Linked DNA regions of Homo sapiens: all the other regions are linked to region 1. The links are contacts of gene promoters, found by promoter capture Hi-C in blood cells and fetal thymus (Javierre and others, 2016). All regions are on one chromosome and are shown on one strand. Each heading gives the region's core, a stretch centred on a gene start or on the middle of the fragment in contact. The rest is flanking DNA. Distances are from core to core; before and after follow the strand shown. Region 1 has its middle 36 kb from the start of P2RX7. Region 2 holds the start of SIRT4 (sirtuin 4). Region 3 holds the start of COX6A1 (cytochrome c oxidase subunit 6A1). Region 4 holds the start of POP5 (POP5 ribonuclease P/MRP subunit).

What was found. Contacts are between HindIII fragments. The CHiCAGO score rates a contact against its expected background, and 5 or more counts as called.
Region 2: the fragment with the promoter of SIRT4 here is called in contact with a fragment that was not itself captured in region 1 in 1 of 17 cell types (total B cells); the score reaches 6.6 in total B cells.
Region 3: a contact is called between the fragment with the promoter of COX6A1 here and a fragment that was not itself captured in region 1, in 1 of 17 cell types (total B cells). The highest score is 6.4, in total B cells.
Region 4: a contact is called between the fragment with the promoter of POP5 here and a fragment that was not itself captured in region 1, in 11 of 17 cell types (total B cells, naive B cells, naive CD4 T cells and 8 more). The highest score is 17.2, in total B cells.

Annotation. Positions count from the first base shown.
Region 1 is chr12:121,093,465-121,099,499 of GRCh38, forward strand. No RefSeq gene overlaps it. Among named protein-coding and RNA genes, the nearest start is that of P2RX7, 36 kb to the right of the region's middle. RefSeq lists an enhancer at 1-121. The HindIII fragment of the contact is 3,941 bases long and covers 781-4,721 here.
Region 2 is chr12:120,300,100-120,306,134 of GRCh38, forward strand. SIRT4 (sirtuin 4) reads left to right here and starts at 2,222. Exons shown (of 4, transcript NM_012240.3): 1 at 2,222-2,279; 2 at 3,462-3,959. The coding sequence starts at 3,463. The HindIII fragment of the contact is 5,713 bases long and covers 2,195-6,035 here.
Region 3 is chr12:120,436,863-120,442,897 of GRCh38, forward strand. COX6A1 (cytochrome c oxidase subunit 6A1) reads left to right here and starts at 1,251. Exons shown (of 3, transcript NM_004373.4): 1 at 1,251-1,367; 2 at 1,517-1,659; 3 at 3,592-3,868. The coding sequence starts at 1,265. The coding sequence ends at 3,675. It also overlaps the pseudogene LOC124903126. RefSeq lists enhancers at 1,288-1,497, 1,424-1,945. The HindIII fragment of the contact is 8,043 bases long and covers 90-6,035 here.
Region 4 is chr12:120,579,105-120,585,139 of GRCh38, forward strand. POP5 (POP5 ribonuclease P/MRP subunit) reads right to left here and starts at 2,298. Exons shown (of 5, transcript NM_015918.4): 1 at 2,239-2,298; 2 at 2,011-2,153; 3 at 670-819; 4 at 410-493; 5 at 1-308. The coding sequence starts at 2,258. The coding sequence ends at 214. RefSeq lists silencers at 5,361-5,730, 5,761-5,830. The HindIII fragment of the contact is 2,825 bases long and covers 1-2,324 here.

The sequences.
Region 1 (6,035 bases), core at 1,501-4,000:
TGGCTTCAGCCAGTGGATTCCGCACGAGGGCCGCAGGTGGAGCTGCCTGCCAGTCCCGCAAGGTGCGCCCGTGCTCCTCAGCCCTTGGGCAGTCGATGGGACTGGGCGCCGTGGGGCAGGGGGCAGCACTTGTCGGGGAGACTCAGGCAGTGCAGGAGCCCACGGGGGCGGGGTGGAGGTTGGGGAGACTCAGGCTCAGGCATGGGGGGCTGCAGGTCCCGAGCCCTGCCCCACGGGGATGCAGCTAAGGCCCGGCGAGAAGTCTAGCACAGCAGCTGCTGGCCCAGGTGCTAAGCCCCTCACTGCCCGGGGCGGCGGTGCCGGCCGGCCGCTCCGAGTGCAGGGCCTGCCGAGCCCACGCCCACCTGGAACTCGCACTGGCCCGCAAGCGCTGCGCGCAGCCCTGGTTCCTGCTCGCGCCTCTCCCTCCACACCTCTCCACAAGCCGAGGGAGCCGGCTCCAGTCTTGGCCAGACCAGAAAGGGGCTCCCACAGTGCAGCGGCGGGCTGAAGGGCTCCTCAAGTGCCGCCAAAGTGGGAGCCCAGGCAGAGGAGGCGCTGAGAGCGAGCGAGGGCTGCTAGCACGCTGTCACCTCTCACTGGGGGGCCAGGCAGTCCTGCTCTTATCCCAAGTCAGTTTCCCACAGGAGGGATCTGCCCAACCTAGTGCTGGCTTTTTCAAGTGCTTCCTTTGCATATTCTAAATCAACTCAAAATGGATTAGAGACTTCAATGTAAGACCTGAAATCATAAAACTACGAGAAGAAAACACAGGGGAAAAGCTTCCTGACGTTGCAAACCGTACATCTCATAAGGAGGCAATATCAAGAATATATACGGAACTCATGGAACACAGTAGCAAAAAACAAATCACCTGATTGAAAATGGGCAAAGAACCTGAACAGATATTTATCAAAAGAAGACATATAAATGCCCAACGGGTGTATGAAAAAGTGCTCAACAGCACTAATCATCAGGGAAATGCAAATCAAAACCTCAATGAGACATCACCTCACACCTGTTAGAATGGCTATTATCCAAAAGAGGAAAGATAACAACTGTTATTGAGGATGTGGGGGAAAGGGATCACTGTACACTGTTAGTAAAAATGTAAACTTGTACAGCCATTATGGAAAATAACATCCATCCACAGATGAATGGGTGAGGGAAACGTGTCTACGCAATGGAATATTATTCAGCTCCAAAAAAGAAGGAAATCCTGCCATTTCCAACAGCCTGGATGAACCTGCTATGCTAAGTGAGATAAGTAAGCACAGAAAGACTAATACTGCATGATCTCAGCCTGGTACAGTGGCTCACGCCTGTAATCCCAACACTTCAGGAGGCTGAGGCAGGTGGATCACCTGAGGTCAGGAGTTTGAGACCAGCATGGCCAACATGGTGAAACTCCATCTCTATTAAAGATACAAAAATAGATTGTGGTGGTGCACGCCTGTAGTCCCAGCTACTCGGGAGGCTGAGGCAGAATCGCTTGAACCCAGGAGGCAGAGGTCGCAGTGAGCCAAGATGGCACCACTGCACTCCAGCCTGGGCGACAGAGCGAGACTCCACATCAAGAAAAATAAATAAATAAATAAATAAATAAATACTGCATGATCTCACTTATATGTGGAATCTAAACTAACCAAACTCATAGAAGCAGAGAGTAGAGTAGAATAGTCGTTGCCAGGGACTGAGGGTTGGAGAAAACGGGGTGTTGTTTAATGGGTATAAAGTGTCAGTTATACAAGATGAGTAAGTTCTGGAGATGTAACGTACAGCGTGTAACAACACTCTGTTGTATACCTGAAATTTCTTAAGAGAGTAGATCTTAAGATCCTTAACCACCCCACCTCCAAAAAAGAAAGAAAGTGGTAACAATGTAAGATGGTGGGTGTTTTAGTTTGCGGTGATCATTTCACAATGTGTATTAAATATCCGGTTGCCCACTTTAAATATATACAATGTTTACTTTTCAAGCATATTCAGATAAAGCTGGGGGAAAACAAACAGCTTTCTGGGGCCATTGTTTGCAGACCCCTGAGTTAGGGCATTGTGTGATGGCTGGGTCAATTTCACTTCAGCATGGTAAGAGGCACGTGACAAAAACTGGCATGAAAGGGGCTGTTGGAACCAAGGGGCAGGAAAGGGCTGCCCTATAGGATCCGCCAGAAGACAGACCGGCATTTCACGAAGTGAGCAAATTCCGGAGGAAATAAAGGATTTCCGTTTTAAGGGGTTGGGAGGCAAGAGAAAAGGCTGAGAGGGTGTGTGTGTCTGAAATGGGGTCTCTGGGTGAGAAAACGTGTGAGATAAAGTGCGAGGCTGGAAAAACGCGCACGTGTGCAGGAGGCGGGGATCTGCTGCACCGAGTGTGCACATTTGCACGAACCGTGGGGGCGTCTGCGGCTGTGGGTGGAGAGGAAATCCTGGATCACACATCTGAGAGAGGGGGTGTGGGTGGGAGTGGGAGAGTATGTAAGAGCGTGGGTCGTGACAGGTGAGGGACTTGTGTGTGCAACTGTGCGTCCTGCGAGAGTGAGGAGGTCTCGGACTGAGGAACTGCGTTCAGTGCTCAGTGGTGAGTTCCCACGCAAGAGCCTGGGGAGTCAACCAGAAAGACCCGCACGCGGGGCGGGCCCAGCGACCTCGGGCGCCATCTGCTGATTACCAGACGCCACTACCTGAGAAAGGCCCCTCCAGTCTCCTCATTGCCCAGCTGCGGACCCTAAGCTGAGCCATAACCGTCCTACCAACCCACGTCAGCAGAAGAGCCCAGTGGGAGGGCGTGTGTTCACTTCTGCTCCTCTGGGCAAAGACGCCCAGGTCAGAAACACCCACCCGACCCTCCCACTACCCAGAGACAGCCCCACCTGCACAGCTCAGAGCAGGACCACTGACCCTCTGGCTCTCCGGTCATATTTGCTATTGAAGACCAGAATAAAGTATTTTTATCAGGATTGAATACATGACTCATGAATGAATAAATTCATTCTCCTTACATATCGGTTCCTATTGAGAAATATGGTGGCTAGAATTTATTTCCTCCGGAAAGAGGAATAAATGTGGAGCCCCTGGGTTTGGTGCTATTTATTACCCATTTCTCTGATGTTGTAAGAAAAGAGAGATTCAGAAGAAATATCACATTTCAGCCCCGAACTTACGTAGCTTGCTGCCGTTCTAGGTGATTTACTTAGATTGGCTTCTGCATTTTGACAAATGAGGAAATTGGGAGAATTAAAGCCTCTGGTTTTAAAGCCTGCTGCTGGGTCAAGTAGAACTGTGACTTTTATTTTTTTTTTTTTAGACAGAGTCTTGCTCTGTTGCCCAGGCTGGAGTGCAGTGGCACAATCTCAGCTCACTGCAACCTCCACCTCCCGGGCTCCCTCAGCGATTCTCCTGCCTCAGCCTCCCAAGCAGCTGGAACTACAGATGCCCACCACCACGCACGGCTAATTTTTGCATTTTTAGTAGAGGTGGAGTTTCACCGTGTTGGCCAGGCTGGTCTCAAACTCCTGACCTCAAATGACCCACCCACCTCAGCCTTCCGAAGTGCTGGGATTACAGGTGTGAGCCACCGTGCCCGGCCCAGAACTATGACATTTTGTTTTTGTTTTTCTCTGTTTCTTTGAAAAGAAATGGAGTGAAGGTGCAGAGATATGAGATAAATTATTTAAACACATTATTATTATTGTTGTTATTATTATTATTATTATTATTATTATTATTGAGTCGGAATTTCACTCTTGTTGCCCAGGCTCGAGTGCAATGGCATGATCTCAGCTCACTGCAACCTCCACCTCATGGGTTCAAGTTATTCTCTTGCCTCAGCCTCCCAAGTAGCTGGGATTACAGGCATGCGCCACCACGTCGGGGTATTTTTTTTTTTTTTTTTTTTTTTTAGTAGAGATGGGTTTCTCCATGTTGGTCAGGCTGGTCTCGAACTCCTGACCTCAGATGATCCACCCACCTCGGCCTCCCAAAGTGCTGGGATTACAGGCGTGAGCCACCGCACCCTGCCTTAAACACGTTATTAAATCAGTAAAATGAAGGGCCTGACAAATAAATGACCACTGAGCTAGGATGTAGAAGACCAAGGCCTGGAAGAAGGGGAGTCTGCCTCTTCTGTCACTGGTGAGCTACGACCTTCCCTGCAGGCACACCCTACGCTGTCCTTCAGGCTGGCTCTCCATGCCCTCGGGGGCCTCGGTCCAAACATCTGGACAAAGGCCCTATGAAAGGACCTCTAACAAAATATTTTCCACCATATTCAGCTAGAGTTGCATGTTTTTCTATTTTTCCTAATGAGAACATAGGACTTGAGAACTGATCATGTGTCTTCGCTTTAATTTGAAATGATCAGAATAATCTGAAAAAAACAGAACTATTGTCCAGGAAATGAGAGAGAACTGAATTCAGTCACTTAAATATATAATCAAATCCCTTCCCCAGCCTTCCCCCACATGTGCTGGTTTTTTCATTCTCACTCTTCAAACTGATCACCTATTAATCATCTAAAACCACAACAAAATGCTTTTGAAAACTTTTTAAAAAGAAGTGCATCTCATTTTATGTAAGTTGTGATGTAAGAAAAATAGTAAGATTATAAAAATATTTTTTACTTTTGATACAGTGACTAGCAAAGGTAAAAAAAAAAAAAAAACATAGGACATCGAAGGGTCAATTCATTGTCTGGGAAGAGGTTTTGGATTTATTTACCAAGCTTCTAAACATGGATCTTCCTAATCATAGAGAAAAAGCCCTTTCAAAGCAGTTGTTGTAGGCCGGGTGCAGTGGCTCAGGCCTGTAATCCCAACACTTTGGGAGGCTGAGGTGGGTGGATCACCTGAGGTCAGGAGTTTGAGACCGGCATGGCCAACATGGTGAAACTCCATCTCTATTAAAAATACAAAAATAGATTGTGGTGGTGTACGCCTGTAGTCCCAACTACTCTGGAGGCTGAGGCGGGAGAATAGCTTGAGCCTGGGAGGTGAAGGTTGCAGTGATCGCGCCACTGCACTCCAGCTTGGGCGACAGAGACTCCATCTCAAAAGAAAAAAGTGTGGTCTAGTGAGGGTGATTTTAAACTGATTAGGTTTAATTCATTTCCTTGATCTAAATATGAAGTGTTTTTACTCTGTGAGCAGAAAGTTTTTGAAACTAGTTCATGAAGGTGAGTCCAGTGGTATTTTTCTTTTTTACTTCTCAGCCTTCTACGAAAGGCAAATATAAGACAGCAAAATCCAAAGAATGGAGTTATTAAGGCTGCAAGTGGAGTCCGAGGCCAGTTCCATGCCAGGCATGGTGCGTGCACTGAGAGACAGGGATCCTCTGCTCCAGGAGCCGAAGGCACATGCTGTTTTGCTTACTACTGAACTCTACTACACATTTAAAGAAGAACCATTACCAATCCTACTCAAACTCTTCCAAAAAACTAAAGAGGAGGGAACACTTCCAAACTCACTTTACAAGGCCACCATTACCCTGATACCCAAACCAGACAAGAACACAACAACAAAAAAAAGAAAACTACAGGCCAATATTCCCGATGAACATAGAGCCAAAATCCTCAACAAGATACTAGCAAACTGAATCTAACAGCACATCAAAAAGACCATTCACCATGATTGTTGATGGCTGATGCAAGACCTCAGTTCTTGTCTTCTTAGTTTAAGAAAATTTAAACAGACTCACAGCAAAGGAGATGCAACATAGAGTAATTTATTGCAAAAGAAAAAGACTATTTTGGGCTAGGTGCAGTGGCTCACACCTGTAATCCCAGCACTTTGGGAGGCCGAGGTAGGCAGATCACCTGAGGTTGGGAGTTTGAGACCAGCCTGACCAACATGGAGAAACCCCATCTCTACTAAAAATACAAAATTAGCTGGGCATGGTGGCACTCAGGAGGCTGAGGCAGGAGAATCACTTGAACCCAGGAGGCAGAGGTTGCGGTGAGCCAAGATCGTGCCATTGCACTCCAGCCTGGGCAACAAGAGCGAAACTACATCTCAAATAATAATAATATTTTGAAAGTT
Region 2 (6,035 bases), core at 972-3,471, 790 kb before region 1:
CATAGTGAGACCGTGTCTCGACAAAAATAAAAAATAACAAAATTTAGCTGGGCGTGGTGGTGGATGCCTGTGATCTCAGCTACTCGAGAGGATGAGGTTGGAGGATCCCTTGGGCCTGGGAAGTAGAAACTGCAGTGAGCTGTGATGTCACAACTGCACTCCAGCCTGGGTGACAGAACGAGACCCTGTCTCAAAAAAAAGAAAAAAAAAAAGCAGAAATGGGCAAACTACTAAATGGTCATTTTGCCAATATTACCTCCAAAGATACAATGATAGAACCAAAAACCTAAAAACTCTTTCTCAAGCTTCCACATTACTTCTCTGCACTTCAGTTCATCTTTATTTATTATTATTATTTTTTGAAGAGATGGGATCTCACTTTGTCACCCAGGCTGAAGTGCAGTCGCACAATTATGGCTCACTGCAGCCTCGATCTCCTGGGCTCAAAGTGATCCTCCCACCTGAGCCTCTTGAGTAGCTGGGACTACAGGCACACACCACCACACCCCGCTAATTTTGTTTATTTTTTGTAGTGAGTGGGTCTCACTATGTTGCCCAAGCTGGTCTTGAACTTTTGGGCTCAAGTGATCCTCCTGCCTTGGCCTCCCAAAGTGTTGGTATTACAGGTGGGAACCACTGCACTCAGCCCAATTCATCTTAAAATGGGGGAAGGGAGTCCTTAGGTGGTCTTCAAGGTCCCTGCTGGCCGCCCACCTTTATGTCCAAAGACACTTATACATTTATTGATTTAGGTGATGCTGCAGAGCGGCAGTTCTGGTTGTCTACACATTAGGAACAATTAGGAAATTTGTAGATCAGAATCCCTGGGAGTGAGACGCAGGCCTTGTTTGATTAACTTAATAAAAAAAATATGATAAATAAAATTGGAGAAGCCAAGCAGGTTAAGTACATTAGTCCAGGTATAATATATTTGGCTTCATATTAACTGTAAAAACATCACTTTTGGCTGGGCACAGTGGCTTACGCCTGTAATCCCAGTACTTTGGGAGGCTAGGGTGGGCAGATCACGAGGTCAGGAGATCAAGACCATCCTGGCTAACATGGTGAAACCTTGTCTCTACTAAAAATAAAAAAATTAACCGGGCGTAGTGGCATGCGCCCATAATCCCTGCTACTCAGGAGGCTGAGGCAGGAGAATTGCTTGAACCCGGGAGGCGGAGGTTGCAGTGAGCCGAAATGGCACCATTGCACTCCAGCCTGGGCAACAGAGCGAGACTCCGTCTCAAAAACAAACAAACAAACAACAACAACAACAACAACAAACTATCACTTTTTCAGATATGTATAAACACATTTCTTCACAAGTTCAAGGTATTTTACCAATAGCAAATAACTTGATACTGTCGTTGTGAATGAAAAGGATCACAAACTCTGATGTTTAGAATGAGTCAAATCTAGGCCGGGAACAGTGGCTCAGGCCTGTAATCCCAGCATTTTGGGGGGCCGAGGTTGGCGGATCACCTGAGGTCGGGAGTTCGAGACCAGCCTGGCCAACATGGTGAAACTCTGTCTCTACTAAAAATACAAAAACTTTAAAAAAAAGTCAAATCTAGATCCATGATTAATGACGTGCTCATTTCACATTGCATGTTTGTATCAAAACATCTCATGTGGGTAAAGCATAGACAGGCACAGAGAAAAGAAAAAAAGACAAAAAATAAGAGAAAAGATGGCCGGGCGCAGTGGCTCACGCCTATAATCCCAGCACTTTGGGAGGTCAAGGCGTGCGGATCACCTGAGGTTAGGAGTTCAAGACGAGCCTGGCCAACATGGCGAAACCCCCGTCTCTACTAAAAATACAAAAATAATCCCAGCTACTCGGGAGGCTGAGGCAGGAGAATCGGTTGAACCCGGGAGAGGGAGGTTGCAGTGAGCCGAGATCGTGCCACTGCACTCCAGACTGGAGTTTTTTCAAAAAAAAAAAACAACAACTCCGTCTTAAAAAAAAAAAAGAAAAAAGAAAAAAAATCTTATGTACACTATAAATATATACACCTACTAAGTGCCCACAGAAATTGAAAACAAAGAAAAAAATCCATGATTAAAAGCTTTTATATTAACGGGGGAACCTCTGACCAGAAAGAGCCGACAGGGGGCGTTCCTGGATGATCTGGGGCTGTCAATTGCGAGACGCGGAGGATTGTGGGACTTGTGGTTTTTCTCGCATCATTTAAGCTTTCTGGACTACATGTCCCAAAATGCAAATGCAATCAGACGGTCCCACTGTGGGGTGTGAAGTGTCCGTAGAGCTGTGAGAGGTAAGTGTGTTCTGTGTGTGCTGCGGATTTCTAGAAGTTGTGGATTTCTTGTGAGGGATTCTATTTCTCCTCTTTGCCCTCGGTGGGACCTGGAAGAGAGTAGTTGTTCCACTGATGCACGTTTTCAGCGGGGGTTTCCCCTGACCCTTTGGTCTCGGGAAACCGGACTGTGTGTTTGTTCAGCTGTTCACGTTTTGCTGTGGAATGTCAAGGAGAAAGCGGGGTCCTGATCTCAGATCTGGAAAGCCAAACATAAAATAATGTTTACATACGGGGTGCATGTCACTAGAGGATTTATGCATTGCATTGTGTCAAATAATATGTCAAAGTTTTTTCTTTTTCTTTTTTTTTTTTTTTTTGATACGGAGTCTTGCTTCTTCGCCCAGGCTGGAGTGCAACGGCGCGATCTCGGCTCACTGCAACCTCCGCCTCCCGGGTTCAAGCAATTCTCCTGCCTCAGCCTCCCTAGTAGCTGGGATTACGGGCACGTGCCACAATGCCCGGCTAATTTTTTTTGTATTTTTAGTAGAGTCGGGGTTTCACCATGTTGGCCAGGCATGTCTCGAACTCCTGATCTCAAGTGATCTGCCTGCGTCGGCCTCCCAAAGTGCTGGGATTTCAGACGTGAGCCACCGCACCCGGCCCTCTATTGTTACAGCTAGAAAAGCTGACGGGCAGGGGTCTTGTCTCTCTGATGTGTCCAAGTAGCAGAGCTTGCAGTGGAGGGTAAACTAAAATAAGGGGGAAATGAAAAAATAAAAGGAATGCGTGTGTGTGCTTAATTACATGAACAAAATCAAACAAAACCTGACTCATTAGGGCCAGACTCAGAGGCTCACACCTGTAATTCCAGCACGTTGGGAGGCCGAGGCGGGCAGATCACTAGAGCTCAGGAGTTCGAGACTAGCCTGGCCAACATGGTGAAACCCTGCCTCTACTAAAAATACAATAATTAGCCGGGCATGGTGGCCATGTAGTCCCAGCTATTCTGGAGGCTGAGGCAGGAGAATCACTTGAACCCGGGAGGCGGCGGTTACAGTGAGCCAAGATCATGCCACTGTACTCTAGCCTGGGCAACAGAGGGAGACTCTGTCTCAAAAAACAAAACGAAAACAAACAAACAAAAAATGAGAAAAAAAAAAAACCACCCCAGTTTCTCACATGAGGCTTCTTTTTCTCTAGAATGAAGATGAGCTTTGCGTTGACTTTCAGGTCAGCAAAAGGCCGTTGGATCGCAAACCCCAGCCAGCCGTGCTCGAAAGCCTCCATTGGGTTATTTGTGCCAGCAAGTCCTCCTCTGGACCCTGAGAAGGTCAAAGAGTTACAGCGCTTCATCACCCTTTCCAAGAGACTCCTTGTGATGACTGGGGCAGGAATCTCCACCGAATCGGGGATACCAGACTACAGGTCAGAAAAAGTGGGGCTTTATGCCCGCACTGACCGCAGGCCCATCCAGCATGGTGATTTTGTCCGGAGTGCCCCAATCCGCCAGCGGTACTGGGCGAGAAACTTCGTAGGCTGGCCTCAATTCTCCTCCCACCAGCCTAACCCTGCACACTGGGCTTTGAGCACCTGGGAGAAACTCGGAAAGCTGTACTGGTTGGTGACCCAAAATGTGGATGCTTTGCACACCAAGGCGGGGAGTCGGCGCCTGACAGAGCTCCACGGATGCATGGACAGGTGCAGGAGCTGTACACGGTTTGAACGCAAACCCGTGTGTTGTTTTGGGAGAGTAGGGACCTTGGCTGTCTTGATCACCACAGTCTTAGACCTTGAGAAAAGGATTTCAGAGCAAGTTGTTTATTTTGCAGTTGATTCCAGTAAATTCATTGACGGAGCAAGGATGTAAAACAGGAAAGAGAGGAAAGCCAAGAAAGTGTGTGTTAATGAGTGGGTTACTGCCTTGGGCACTGGGGTTCAGTCCTGTGAGGGACCCTCCAACTGTCTAGGACATGCCTGAGGATTGTCTCAATGAAACTTGAGGACTGGGGCCGGGCGCAGTGGCTCACGCCTGTAATCCCAGCATTTTGGGAGGCTGAGGTGGGCAGATCACATGAGCTCAGGAGTTCGAGACCAGCCTGGCCAACATGGTGAAACCCCATTTCTACTAAAAATACAAAAATTAGCCAGTCGTGGTGGCACATGCCTGTAATCCCAGCTGCTTGGGAGGCTGAGGCAGGAAAATCTCTTGGGAGGCAGAGGTTGCTGCAGTGAGCCGAGATTGCACCACTACACTCCAGCCTGGGCAACAGTGCAAAAAAAAAGAAAAAAAGAAAAAAAAAAGTTGAGGATGGTGCACAGTGGCTCATACCTGTAATCCTAGCACTTTGGAAGGCTGAGGCAGGAAGATTGCTTGAGGCTAACAGTTCAGGACCAACCTGGCAAACACAGTGAGACTCTGTCTCTATATAAGTAAAGTAAATTTTATATATATATATATATATATATATATATATATTTTTTTTTTTTTTTTTTTTTTTTAAAGAAAGTTGAGGCCGGGTGTGGTGGCTCACGCCTGTAATCCCAGCACTTTGGGAGGCCAAGGCAGGCAGATTACCTGAGGTCAGGAGTTCAAGACCAATCTGGTCAACATGGTGAAACCCCGTCTCTACTAAAAATACAAAAATCTGTTGGAAGTGGTGGCACGCACCTGTAATTCCAGCTACTCAGGAGGCTGAGGCAGGAGAATCGCTTGAACCTGGGAGGTAGAGGTTGCAGTGAGCTGAGATCATGAGCTGAGATCATGCCACCACACCCCAGCCTGGGCAACAGAGCAAAACTCCGTCTCAAAAAGAAAAAAAAAAAAGAAAGTTGAGCAAGCTAGGGTGATTTTCTTTTATTTTCTTTTGTGTTTGTGTGTGCACGTGTGTGTGTGTGTGTGTGTGTGTGTATGACAGGCTTTCACTCTGTCACACAGACTGGGATGTGGTGGTGTGATTATAGCTCACTTCAGCCTCAATCTCTTGGGCTCAAGTGATCCTTTCACCCCAGCCTCCTAAGTAGCTGGGACTACAGGCAAACGCCACCGTGCCCAGCTAATTTTTAATTTAATTTTTATTTTTTGTAGAGACGAAGTCTTACTATGTTGCCCAGGCTGGTCTCGAACTCCTGGGCTCATGTGATCCTCCTGCCTTGGCATCTCAAAGTGCTGGGATGACTAGTGTGAGCCACTGTGCTTGGCCTTGAAGCTAGGGTATTTATTCACCATCTCTCATCCCTCATGGGTCCAGGATCACTCTAGGGGAATTAATTCCCTAACATTTTGACTCTGCTCCTCCCAAGGAGGCTTCCGTGGGCAGAGAACATCTGAGGCAAGAGAGACACAGGAAACTGCTTGTAAGAAAATTGTGTAGGCTGGGCGCGGCGGCTCACGCCTGTAATCCCAACACTTTGGGAGGCTGAGGCAGGCGGATCACGAGGTCAGTTGATCGAGACCATCCTGGCTAACATGGTGAAACCCCGTCTCTACTAAAAATACAAAAAATTAGCTGGGCGCGGTGGCGGACGCCTGTAGTCCCAGCTACTCGGGAGGCTGAGGCAGGAGAATGGCGTGAACCTGGGAGGTGGAGCTTGTGGTGAGCCGAGATCGCGCCACTGCACTCCAGCCTGGGTGACAGAGCGAGACTCCGTCTCAAAAAAAAAAAAAAAAGAAAGAAAGAAAATTGTGTCCACCAGGGTGCTGTGGTTCATATCTGTCATCCCAGCAACTCAGGAGGCTGAAGCAGGAGGATTACTTGAGGCCAGGAGATCAAGACC
Region 3 (6,035 bases), core at 1-2,500, 660 kb before region 1:
GCTATACTGTGTGTTTACACATAGGTGTGTCTTTAGAGGAAAGGGTTCAAAGCTTTCATTAGATTCTTTTTTTTTCTAATAAAGAAAAAAGCTTTGTTGCCCAGGCTGGTCTCAAACTCTCAAGCTCAAGCAATCTGTCCGCCTCGGCCTCTCAAAGTGTTGGGATTACAGCCATGAGCCACCACGCTGGTCCTCATTACATTCTCAAAGGGGCCTATTGAAAAAAAAAAAAAAAAAAAAAAAAAAGGCCGGGCACAGTGGCTCACGCCTGTAATCCCAGCACTTTGGGAGGCCGAGGAAGGCGGATCACAAGGTCAGGAGATGGAGACCATCCTGGCCAATATGGTGAAACCCTGTCTCTACCAAAGTACAAAAAAAAAAATTAGCCAGGCATGGTGGTGCGTGCCTGTAATCCCAGCTATTCAGGAGGCTGAGGCAGTAGAACTGCTTGAACCTGGGATGCAGAGGTTGCAGTGAGCCAAGATTGCACCGCTGCACTCCAGCCTAAGCAACAAGAGTCAAACTCCGTCTCAAAAAAAAAAAAAAAAAAAAAAAAAAAAAAGATGAGACTGTTGAGTCAGGATTAGGATCCAGGTCTGCTGGCACCAATTTCAGTGCTCTTTATACTTTCTGTTGCTATTCATTCATTCATCCATTCATTCAGCAAATTTATATCAAGTATCTGGTATGTGCCAGGTATGATTCCAAATTACACCATTCCCAGATTATTCTGAGAATGCTGCAGTGCCAAACTCTTGGTATCACAGACTTTATATTCTAGTGGGGGAGACAGACAAAATAATAATATAACGACGAAGGTGCAATGTTATGTGCTATGAGAAAACGCAGTCGGAGGATGGCGAGGAAGGGGAACGGAATTTTAGATAGGGCGGTCTGGGATCAGAACCTCCAGATGCCCGTCCATGGACTCCAACGAAGGGAGCGATTCCAGGTACCAGGGCACCCTGCACAAACCTCTCTTGAGCTTCCGCCTCGCCCAGGTGGGGACGGTAGGGAGACCGGAGGGCACACGCATGCGCACGAAGGAAACGGTAAAGCCTGAAGGGAGGTGCAGAGCGCATGCTCTCTCTTGCCCGAGATGCCGAGGATTTTGACAAGGACTCCGTCGTCCCGGATGATAGTGCTCAGGTTAATGCCAGTGGGAGGGCGGCGCCCAATAGTAACTTCCTTTGGAGGTTGTAGTACCGCCCCCAGAGCCAATTTTCCACTTCCGCTTCCGGCGCTGCGGCAGTCCAGATCAAAAATGGCGGTAGTTGGTGTGTCCTCGGTTTCTCGGCTGCTGGGTCGGTCCCGCCCACAGCTGGGGCGGCCTATGTCGAGTGGCGCCCATGGCGAAGAGGGCTCAGGTACTGGGGCCGGGGTCGACGGGTCGAGCCTCAGCCCCACTCGGGCGAGACAGGGAGGGACTGTGACCTTGGCCCGAGGCCTTGCGGGAGGGAAAGTGAGACCCGGGCCCGCCCCATACCGGCGCTGAACGTTTGTGGCTTCTCCGCAGCTCGCATGTGGAAGACTCTCACCTTCTTCGTCGCGCTCCCCGGGGTGGCAGTCAGCATGCTGAATGTGTACCTGAAGTCGCACCACGGAGAGCACGAGAGACCCGAGTTCATCGCCTACCCCCATCTCCGCATCAGGACCAAGGTACGCCCTTGTACATCTCTTCAAGCGTCCGTTCTCTTTTCGTTATGTGTGCCTTAGTGCAAGTTCTTCATTCTCTGAAGGCATGGGTGCCAGGCGTGTACAGCTTGTTTATCCTCACAAACAGAAAATGTATTTTCTTCCATTTTGTGGATGGACAGCTGACACTTGGGATTACGTCTCAATTCTCTTCTTCAAGGTCATACAATAAGTGCTCTTCAGTTTCCCTTTTCTCCGATTCATCCTACCTCCTGCCTTCTGAGACAGTTCTTTTTTTTTTTTTTTTTTTTTTTTTTACTTCTGAGACAGTTCTGAAACAGGTGTCCGTTGTGTAAAGCCTGGAGGTTTGGGAAATCCAATTAGAGTGGCAAAGTCTGAAGGTGGTTCGCGTAAGCGAACCCAGCAGCTACATGGGAGGCTGAAGCAGGAGAATCCCTTGAACCTAGGAGGCGGAGTTTGCAGGGAGCTGAGATCGTGCCACTGCACTCCGGCCTGGGCAACAGAGCGAGACTCTGGTCTCAAAACAAAACAAAACAGCAACAACAAAACATGGGCATCTGGCAGCTACTAGTTGCATAATGAAGAGACTGACAGCTTTCTCTATTCCCCACCAATACCTTTTCTCGACTGTTTTATCATTGGTTGTTGATGTAGATATATTACAATGTTGTGTCCTCTGTTGTTTGCTGTATCTTTAACAAGGGCTTATTCTGATTCTTCAATACTGGCCATGCGCGGTGGCTCACGCCTGTAATCCCAGCACTTTGGGAGGCCAAGGTGGGTGGATCGCCGGAGGTCAGGAGTTCAAGACCAGCCTCGTCAACATGGCGAAACACTATCTCTACTAAAAGTACAAAAAGTAGCCGGGCGTGGTGGCGGGCGCCTGTAATCCCAGCTACTCGGGAGGCTGCGGTGGGAGAATCTAGGAGGTTGAACCCAGGAGGAGGAGGTTGCAGTGAGCCAAGATCCAGCCATTGCACTGCAGCCTGGGCAACAGGAGTGAAACTCCGTCTCAAAAAAAAATAGTAATAATATACTTGATCTTAGCCAAAAGGCCGAGAAGTGATGAAAAAAGTTATTATTATTATTATTATTATTACATCACCTAGCCCATATAGGACTGGCCTTGTAGAAACTTAACCTAGACTCTTGAATTTGTTGAGTCTTTGAGCGGCACTCCCATCCTTGTACAATGCAATTAGAAGCCAAACAGTAAAGGTTTCTCAGCCTCAGCACTGTTGACATTTGGGGCTGGGTAATTCTTGTTGGGGGGCTATCTTGTGCATTGTGAAATGTTTAGCCATATCCTTGGCCTGTACCCACTAGGTGGCAGTAGTACCTGCGCAACCCCACTCCCGCTTCCCCCTCCCCCGCCCCCATCACAGTGTCTCCCGATACTACCCAGTGTGCCCTGAAGGGGCAAAATCACCCTGGGTTGGAGACCGTTGCCCTAAAGTAATGCTTTTCAAAGGTAATAGGCAAGATAATTCAGGGTGGGCTGCAGTTTCCCAGCCCAGATATTGTTTGAAGTCTGGGATGGTGCCAGAAATCTGCATTTAATTAAGCATCTCCCTCCCCTAATACTGCCACCATTTTGATATAGGTGATTTGAGGATTACACTTTCATAAACACAGCACTGGATATACTAGTTACTAGGGAGAGGATGATGAGTAACTAACTTGAGCTTGCATTTTCTGCCATCCATATTTGTTTCTGGAATTAAAACTGTCCTGTAGCCAGGATAACTTTAAGGGCTCCCCTGGTAGTTATAAGAGCTCCTTAAATAATGGGAAGGTTGAACTACACCAGTAGATAAAGGACTAATTTCCATTTTGTTTTTATATATGATCTGTCACCCCGTTATAAGCAGTTCATGACGGTGTTCTTTCTAAATTATTTTCTGGAATTATCTAACTGACATCTTCACTCCACAGCCGTTTCCCTGGGGAGATGGTAACCATACTCTATTCCATAACCCTCATGTGAATCCACTTCCAACTGGCTACGAAGATGAATAAAGAGAATCTGGACCACTACCCGGGCACCAGGGACCACAGCACTGGTTTGGACCGTTACTCTGCACATGGACCAGAAAAAGTATATGGGACCTTAAGCTCACCTTCTTTACTTGTATCAAATGATGACTGGTATACTGGTCTCCCATCCCTTTGCTTGTGGCAGGAGATGGCTTAAATAAATAACTTAAATTTAGATTGGTCATGAGCTGAGAGTTACTTTCTTTGGTTGTGTTTTTTCGCAGAAATTAGCATTTGAGCTTCAAGTCAGTGTCCAAGTTGAAAAGAAATTGGCATTAGTTATTTCTGTTTCCACAGTGAAGGTCTAGGCTGCTGTTTAGTGTTACAGGTCCAATTCAGCCCATTGAATAAGTGTTTATAACAGCCCCTCTTGGTTTATTGTGCCTGATGTGGATAAAGGGACCAAGTGGAGTGGTGCTAATTAAGCATCAAGATTAGTCCTTGGTCAGGTGCGGTGGCTCATGCCTGTAATCCCAGCACTTTGGGAGGCTGAGGCTGGCAGATCACCTGAGGTCAGGAGTTGGAGATCAGCCGGGCCAACATGATGAAATCCTGTCTCTACTAAAAATACAAAAATTAGTTGGGTGTGGTGGCGCACTCCTATAGCTGGGTGTAGAGGCTTGAACCCGGGAGGTGGAGGTTGCAGTGAGCCAAGATCGTGCCACTGCACTCCAGCCTGGGCAACAGAGTGAGACTCTGTCTCAAAAAACAAAAGATTGGTCCTTGACGGGCCTGAGATATCAAAGACATTGAATGGCTAGCAGAATGCCTGCAATTTACACCTGAAAGAGGTATCTGTATTTCTCAAGAGGAAGTGCTTGATCTGGGTCTCATCTTTTTCCTGTCCCATTCCACTAGCATTTACTGCAGAATCTTCCCTGTAGTCATAATTTTCTTGAACATGTCAAGTTCTTTTTTTTCTTTTTTTTTGAGACGGAGTCTCTCTCTGTTGCCCAGGCTAGAGTGCAGTGGCACGATCTCCACTCACTGCAAGCTCTGCCTCCCAGGTTCAAGCCATTCTCCTGCCTCAGCCTCCCGAGTAGCTGGGACTATAGGCACCCGCCACCACACCCAGCTAATTTTTTGTATTTTCAGTAGACACAGGGTTTCACCATGTTAGCCAGGATGGTCTCGATCTCCTGACCTCGTGATCCACCCGCCTCAGCCTCCCAAAGTGCTGGGATTACAGGCGTGAGCCACCGTGCCTGGCCTCGAATGTGTCAAGTTCTTACTTTGAGGTAATCTCCTTCAGGGCTGGTAGGGTCAGAAATCTTAAGAGAAACAAAGGGAGCGTGACACATTTCTGCTTATTGGCTTTTCTGTGGAATTAAAACTATCCTGCTTTAATGGATAGTAAATGGTAGTAGTAGTAGTTACAAAACCACTCTGAGAGGGCAATTATTATTATTATTATTATTATTATTTTTTTTTTTTTTTTTTTTTTTTTGAGATGGAGTCTCGCTCTGTCGCCCAGGCTGGAGTGCAGTGGCGGGACCTCGGCTCACTGCAAGCTCCACCTCCCGGGTTCACGCCATTCTCCTGCCTCAGCCTCCCAAGTAGCTGGGACTACAGGCGCCCGCCACTACGCCCGGCTACTTTTTTGTATTTTTAGTAGAGACAAGGTTTCACATGTTGGCCAGGCTGGTCTTGAACTCCTAACCTCAGGTGATCTGCCCACCTCAGCCTCCCAAAGTGCTAGGATTACAGGTCTGAGCCACTGTGCCTGGCCAGAGCTGGTTTATTTTATTTTATTTTATTTTTTGAGACAGAGTTTCGCTTTTGTTGCCCAGGCTGGAGTGCAATGGCATGATCTTGGCTCACCACAACCTCCACCTCCCAGGTTCAAGCAATTCTCCTGCCTCACCCTCCTGAGTAGCTGTGATTACAGGCATGTGCCACCACACCTGGCTAATTTTTTGTATTTTAAGTAGAGATGGGGTTTCTCCATGTTGGTCAGGCTAGTCTCAAACTCCCAACCTCAGGTGATCTGCCCACCTCAGTCTCCCAAAGTGCTGGGATTACTGGCGTGAGCCACCGCGCCCAGCCAGCTGGTTTATTCTTAAGGCTCAAAGGAACACTTTCGTGGTAAGGTTCAAGAGGCAACAAGGTATTTCATATTATATTACATTAAACTGGTAACGCAAAAGTAAGGCATATACAGTACGGAATAGAGAATCTCATTGTCTTTGCCATTTTGTAATAATTAACGGAATAGAGAATCTCATTGTCTTTGCCATTTTGTAATATTACAGCCTGCACTTCTGAGTCCCTATAGAGCTGTTTTGGTTGTGGCCAGTCTGAGTTTAGGACAGATGCATTATACTTCAGCTTGCTGCCTGGCC
Region 4 (6,035 bases), core at 1,048-3,547, 510 kb before region 1:
CAGAGTTCACAACCTGCAACACTTCACCAGGGAATGCTAGGTAAAGGCAACTTCAGTTTAACTGAGTACTCCATTTCAAGTGGGTAATGTCTGCTGGTTGGCAGCTATCCAGTTTGGAAAACTGTGGAAGATGCTGTTGCTACCCAGATTGTTCTGTTCAACAAGTGGGCCTGAAGCCTGAGCAGTGTAGCCAGCTGTGTGGGGAGCAGAGGTTCACTCCATTGCTTCTGCAGCCTCCTCACCTGACTCCTCCTCCTCCTCTAATAAGCAGCTTCTTGTCACAGACTTCTGGATAGCTTCCCGCTCTCCTGGAGAAGGCAGATAACAGGGATGAAAGATATCTTTGGGAGTGATTTCTTCAGCTTAAGGTCAGTCACTGCTCAGTGGGCACTGGGCTAGTGTTGCTTACCTTCATCAGTGCAGTTCTGCAACAAGATCAACAGCTGTCTCCTGTTGTACTGAATTAGGAACTTCTGACATGTTCTTATTGTACCTGGCATATGAGTTACTGTGGTCAACAGCTTGTGAAAGATCTCGACCTTACAGACTTTCAGAGGTAGGGGGAAGTGTCTTGTTAGCGGGACAGCAGCAAGACCCACCCACCAGTTTAGACTGAACTGTGAACGTGTCACCAATTGAAAATCAGTAGCCATACCACCTCACTCCTACCTCCCACATGTAATGTGTTGAAAAAGCATGGGTAACGGTGTCCTTTGTTCTCCAAGTATGTGATGAAGGGAAGAGCTGACCACACAAGCTGATAGAATTCTTTTCTGCATCGAAGTAGCACTATTCCAGTATAGGCATTGAGATATCGAACTACAACAGGAAAGAAAAATCATTTTGGAAAACTTTTGCTCTGTGTGGTGGCTCACGCCTGTAATCCCAGCACTTTGGGAGGCTGAGGCGGGCAGATCACTTTAAGTCAGGAGTTCGAGGCCAGCCTGGCCAACATGATGAAACCCCGTCTCTACTAAAAATACAAAAATTAGCTGGGTGTGGTGGTGCGCACCTGTAATTCCAGCCACTCAGGAGGCTGAGGCATGAGAATCGCCTGAACCCAGGAGGCAGAGGCAGCAATGACCCCCGATCTCGCTGCTGCACTCCAGCAGCCTGGGCAACAGCCAGACTGTCTCGAAAAAAGGAAAACTTTGGAGTAACAGAGCCTACTATGTGCCAAAAGTATGTTGTAGGCAAGTGGCACGTAGATCTATCAGCGAGTAAAAGAGAAAAGCCAAAACACCCACTGTGTTGCACACCACTCAGAACTGGTGAATGAATTTAGAATTGAAAATGCTTTCTAATTCACTAGTTAATTCAATAAATAGGAGCAGGTAGGAGGCGATCCGTTTTAATTTAGGAAAAACCCCCACAAAACCCTTGCCTGAAAAACAGGCTGTTTTACTGCATTTGGGCTCCGTAATTATTGTAGCAGTCAGCTCTCAGTCTCACCTGACTTAGGAGAGTTAAGTCTATCTGCATTTAACTCTCCAGAAGTCAATCTCAAACAAGGTTAAAGTGGGAACTAATTTAAGTGGTGTGAAAGAAGGGCCCCTCTGTCCTAGCTCATCCTGTATTTACATATATTGACAATCATGTGTTCTGTACTTTACCAACTATTTAAGGGCTTTCCCGGAGTACTTTTGACAATTTTTTTCCATATGATGTTAATGTAATCGGTCATATAATAGCTCTTACTAGGAAGTATACACAGCTTCCCTCATTTAATTCTCTACCCTATCAAATTCAATCACAACCAATTACAGAAATTACCTGTCAAGCAGGTAAAAAGAGGCTTCTAGCTCAAAGCCCCACTGCCTTCGGGCCCCTCCTTTTAGCGCTCTGCTAATTTCGGACTCTCGCTTGGGGTCCCAGGCGCTTAAAGAGATACCTTACAAAAAACGGTGCACGGGCTTGGCCACTCGTGCCCCTTCTTTCTTCCTCCGGCGCCTGCCCCCTCCACATCCCGCCATCCTCCCGGGTTCCCCTCTTCCCCCAGCGCCCTTGCACCCGCGAAGCCGATGGAGCAGGCGGCTGCGCCGAAAGTTCCGTGCACCCTGGCGATCGTGTCCCGTACGAGGCTGCTCAGAACTCGGTCATCGAGGCTTAGGCGGCAGCGGGGGTCGTCAGACACCAGTTCGCAGAGCAGGTACCTGCGGCAGGCGAGAGGAAGGTGGACACTAGCGGGGCCGCGAGGACCCAGCAAGGCACTGGGAGGGTCTGGAAGGGAATGCTTACCTGTGCTTGAACCGCACCATGGCTGCCTCCGCGCTCTCCGGTCCGGCGTGCAAACCGGATGTGAATTCTGTCCGCTGCCAATGGGAAGCTTGCTTCCGCAGCCTTTCAGCCATTCAGAGAAGGAGACAGGATATTAGGGCGGAGCTAGAAAGTTGAGAGGCCGAAGTCTGTCAGCTCTCTCAAGCCCCGCCCAACTGCGTTTGTAAGCGCGCATGCGTCCTGCGGAGGGTCACTGACTAGTTTGAGGGCTGAACCCCGGGATGGAGCGCCTTGCAGCTGTAATGGATGGTTCTGTTGCACACTGAAGTTTACAATAGTGTGTAGGATGTAGCCGCTACCCTTGGGGCCCTGGGAACCTTGCACCACAGTTATGTATGCGAGTATATTCTCTCCCCAAGGTGAACGGTGGAGCTTTTGAGGGCAAGACCCTGCACCTCACAGCCCAGGCATTGACAAACGGGAAATCGGACTTTTATTTTCAGGTTTGAGCTCAGTTTAATTCTTCCATACAGCTAAATATGCTATTGCTGTTTGGGCCTTTCAGCAATCTTAGGGAGGCGAGTGTGCCGTCTCGTTTTTTGCTCGCAGAAACAATACGTGGTCATTGTATTTTCCATTTCCGTTTACCTTTTTTTTTTGACAGAAAAGCACAAAGAAGCAAATAAATTATAATCCCAGCACTGAGAGAGAATAACTGTTGTCGTGTAGTGTGTTTTCTTCTGTCATTTTCTCCCTGCGCCAGTGGTTCTCAAAGTGCCGTCTGGGGACCACTGAGATTTCCTAAATTCACTCGATTTGGGAGTCCCCGAAGTCAAAATTACTTTCATAATAATGCTAAGATGTTACTTGTCTTTTTCATTCTCTCTGAGTGAACAGTCAAGTTTTCCAGAGGCTGCTTGACGTGATGACGTCACTGCTCTAGGAATTGTGTATTGTTTTTTAAACGTTTCTCAACTTTAATGTCCATAGTAAATATAACCCACAAAACTAAAAGCTCTTGGGCACCCTCAGTAACGTGTGTAAAGGGGTCCTGAGACAGAGAAAACAGCTTGAGAACTATGCCCTCTGTTAAATTATGTTTTTTCTTTTATTTTTAAGTATTTTAAAAAAAATGTCTTATGGGGTATTACATAAAGTACATATTCTTAAGTGTATTCATCTCAATGAATTTTTACATATGGATAGACTTCTATAACCACCTCCAAGATTAAAATAAAGAGCATTTCCAGTATCCCAGAAGGTTCCCTGAGCCCTCTTCCAGTCAAATTGCTTACTGCTATCAGCCACTATTACCACTTCTACCCTGCTAGATTAATTTTGCCTGTTCTTAAACTTTATATAAATGCAGCCAGGAGGCTGGCTGCAACCTCTGCCTCCTGAGTTCAAGCGATTCTCCTGCCTCAGCCTCCCGAGTAGCTGGGATTACAGGCACCTGCCACCACGACCAGCTAATTTTTGTATTTATTTATTTAGTTTTTTGAGACGGAGTCTCACTCTGTTGCCCAAGCTGGAGCACGATCTCAGCTCACTGCAACCTCTGCCTCCTGGATTCAGGCGATTCTCCTGCCTCAGCCTCCCAAGTAGCTGGGACTACAGGTGTGTGCCACCACAACTGGCTAATTTTTGTATTTTTAGTAGGGACAGGGTTTCCCCATGTTGGCCAGGCTGGTCTTGAACTCCTGACCTCAGGTGATCCACCCACCTCGGCCTCCCAAAGTGCTGGGATTACAGGCGTGAGCTACCACGCCTGGCCATTTGGCTATATTTTCATGTCAGCTCTTCAGCGACAATACTGTTTTTTAGCTGTGCAGTATTGCATTGTTTGGACGTACCATTGTGAAGTTGGTCAGTATCCCTTTGGTAGACGTTTACATTATTTCTAGATTTTCTTGTTATACCCAATACTTTGATGCATGGCTTTGTAGCTTAGTCTTTATGCCCATCCCTGATTATTTGTAGAAGTGTCTTGGCCTTGGCTGGTCCTGTGAGGTCCGTAATGGGGGCAGCTTTCACAACCTATTTTTGCAAGATCTGGAATGAGTTCTGAATTTTCCCATCTCCCACTCTTCTTGGCCACCTTAAAGGAGGGATGTGGGGGAAGGTAGGGAAGAAAAGAATAGGAAGAGGGAACGCCGTGGCCCTGCCAAGGGACCAGTGACAGTGACGGCACTCCCCACCCAAGAACAACTTTTCACCAGAAAGTGTCTGCGACATCCTCCTTTGGCCAACAGGGGGCGCCAGAGGTCCGCAGTGCGCGGAGAGAGCAAGACACCCCCAACTCCTGAGCGCTCCACCCCTCATAGAAATTTCACTCCTCCCAGCCTTCATTTCAACAGCAATGCTTCGCCCATTTTATAGATGCAGTTGGGGCTCAGACCAAAGCCTCGTATCCAGTTAGGAGCAGGATCAGAATTCGAACCCAAAGCCAGCTGACTCCTTGTTCTGGTCAACACGGTTGGTGCTCTCCCGTGCAGGATTTCACTCGTCCATTTAGTGTAATAAGATGGAGAGACGACAGATGGAGGTTCGATTCGCTACTCCGTCATTTACTGGCCCGGCCAGGTGCTGTCAGGAGGGTTAATTCATGTCTCAGATCTTAGTTTCCTCATCTGTGCAATGGGATAACAATGGTTCCTCCCTCGTGGGTGGATATGAAGTTTAAGCGGGGTCATGTGGACAAAATGCCTGGCACAGCGAGTGCATAGTAAGCCCTTTTTTTGTTTTTGTTTTTTTTGTTTTGTTTGTTTTTTGAGACTGATTTTTAAGACTGTCTTAAAAACAAGAAAAGAAAAAAGAAAATATAGCCAAACAACAGGAATTTTTTGAGACAGTTTTTTGCTCTGTCGCCCAGGCTGGAGTGCAGTGACGCCATGTCGGCTCACTGCAGCCTCTGCCTCCCGGGTTCAAGCAATTCTCCTGCCTCAGCCTCCAGAGTAGCTGGGATTAAGGCGCCTGCCACGACGCCCGGCTAATTTTGTATTTTTAGTAGAGATTTCACCATGTTGGACAGGCTGGTCTCAAACTCCTGACTTCAAGTGATCCGCCCGCCTCGGCCTCCCAAAGTGTTGGGATTACAGGCGTGTGCCACCGCCCTCGGCAAGTAAACGCTGTTCTGAACAAATGATTTACTTTTCCCCCACAGGCACAGCCCCGGGAGGAAGCACATTGGCACGGCCCGCGGCCTCCCAGTCTTGGACCAGGCCCGGCCCCTTCTGGCCCAGGAGGGTGCAGACGCCGGCGGTGGCCGGGCGGGCGGGCTCCCCGCGGTAATTAGCGCGCGCCGGCTCGGGCTGCGCCAGCCGCTAATTATAAGTCTCCTAATGAGGCCGGCGGCTGTTTGCAATCACCCGGGTCCCCGCTGCGCGGCGCGGGAGGCTGCGGGGGAATCCGCCCGCGGAGGCATGGAGGAGGAGCGGCCGTCTTCCCCGGGGCCCGGAGATCCGCTGGACGGCGACGGGGTGTGCCCCGGCCGTGCCCGCCGCCGGAATGCCGGCCGCGAAGGGGCAGCGGCGGGGGCTCACACCCCAACCCCTCCTCGGTTCTCTCCCCAGCCGGGCCGCAGAGCCATTATCCTCCCCAGGTGAGGAAGCCGATGAGGCTCTGAGAGGTGAGCTCACCCAGGTGCGACATCACAACTCACCCAGGTGCACAATAGAGCCCAATCCACGTCTGTCTGACCCCAGCCTGTGCCCTTAGCCGAGTCAGGTATCCCCTGGATCAATGGGGTGGTCACTGTTGTCATTACTGTTAGCATTATTACAGTCGTCCTGGGACTTCTCAGATTCCTTTTTTTTTTT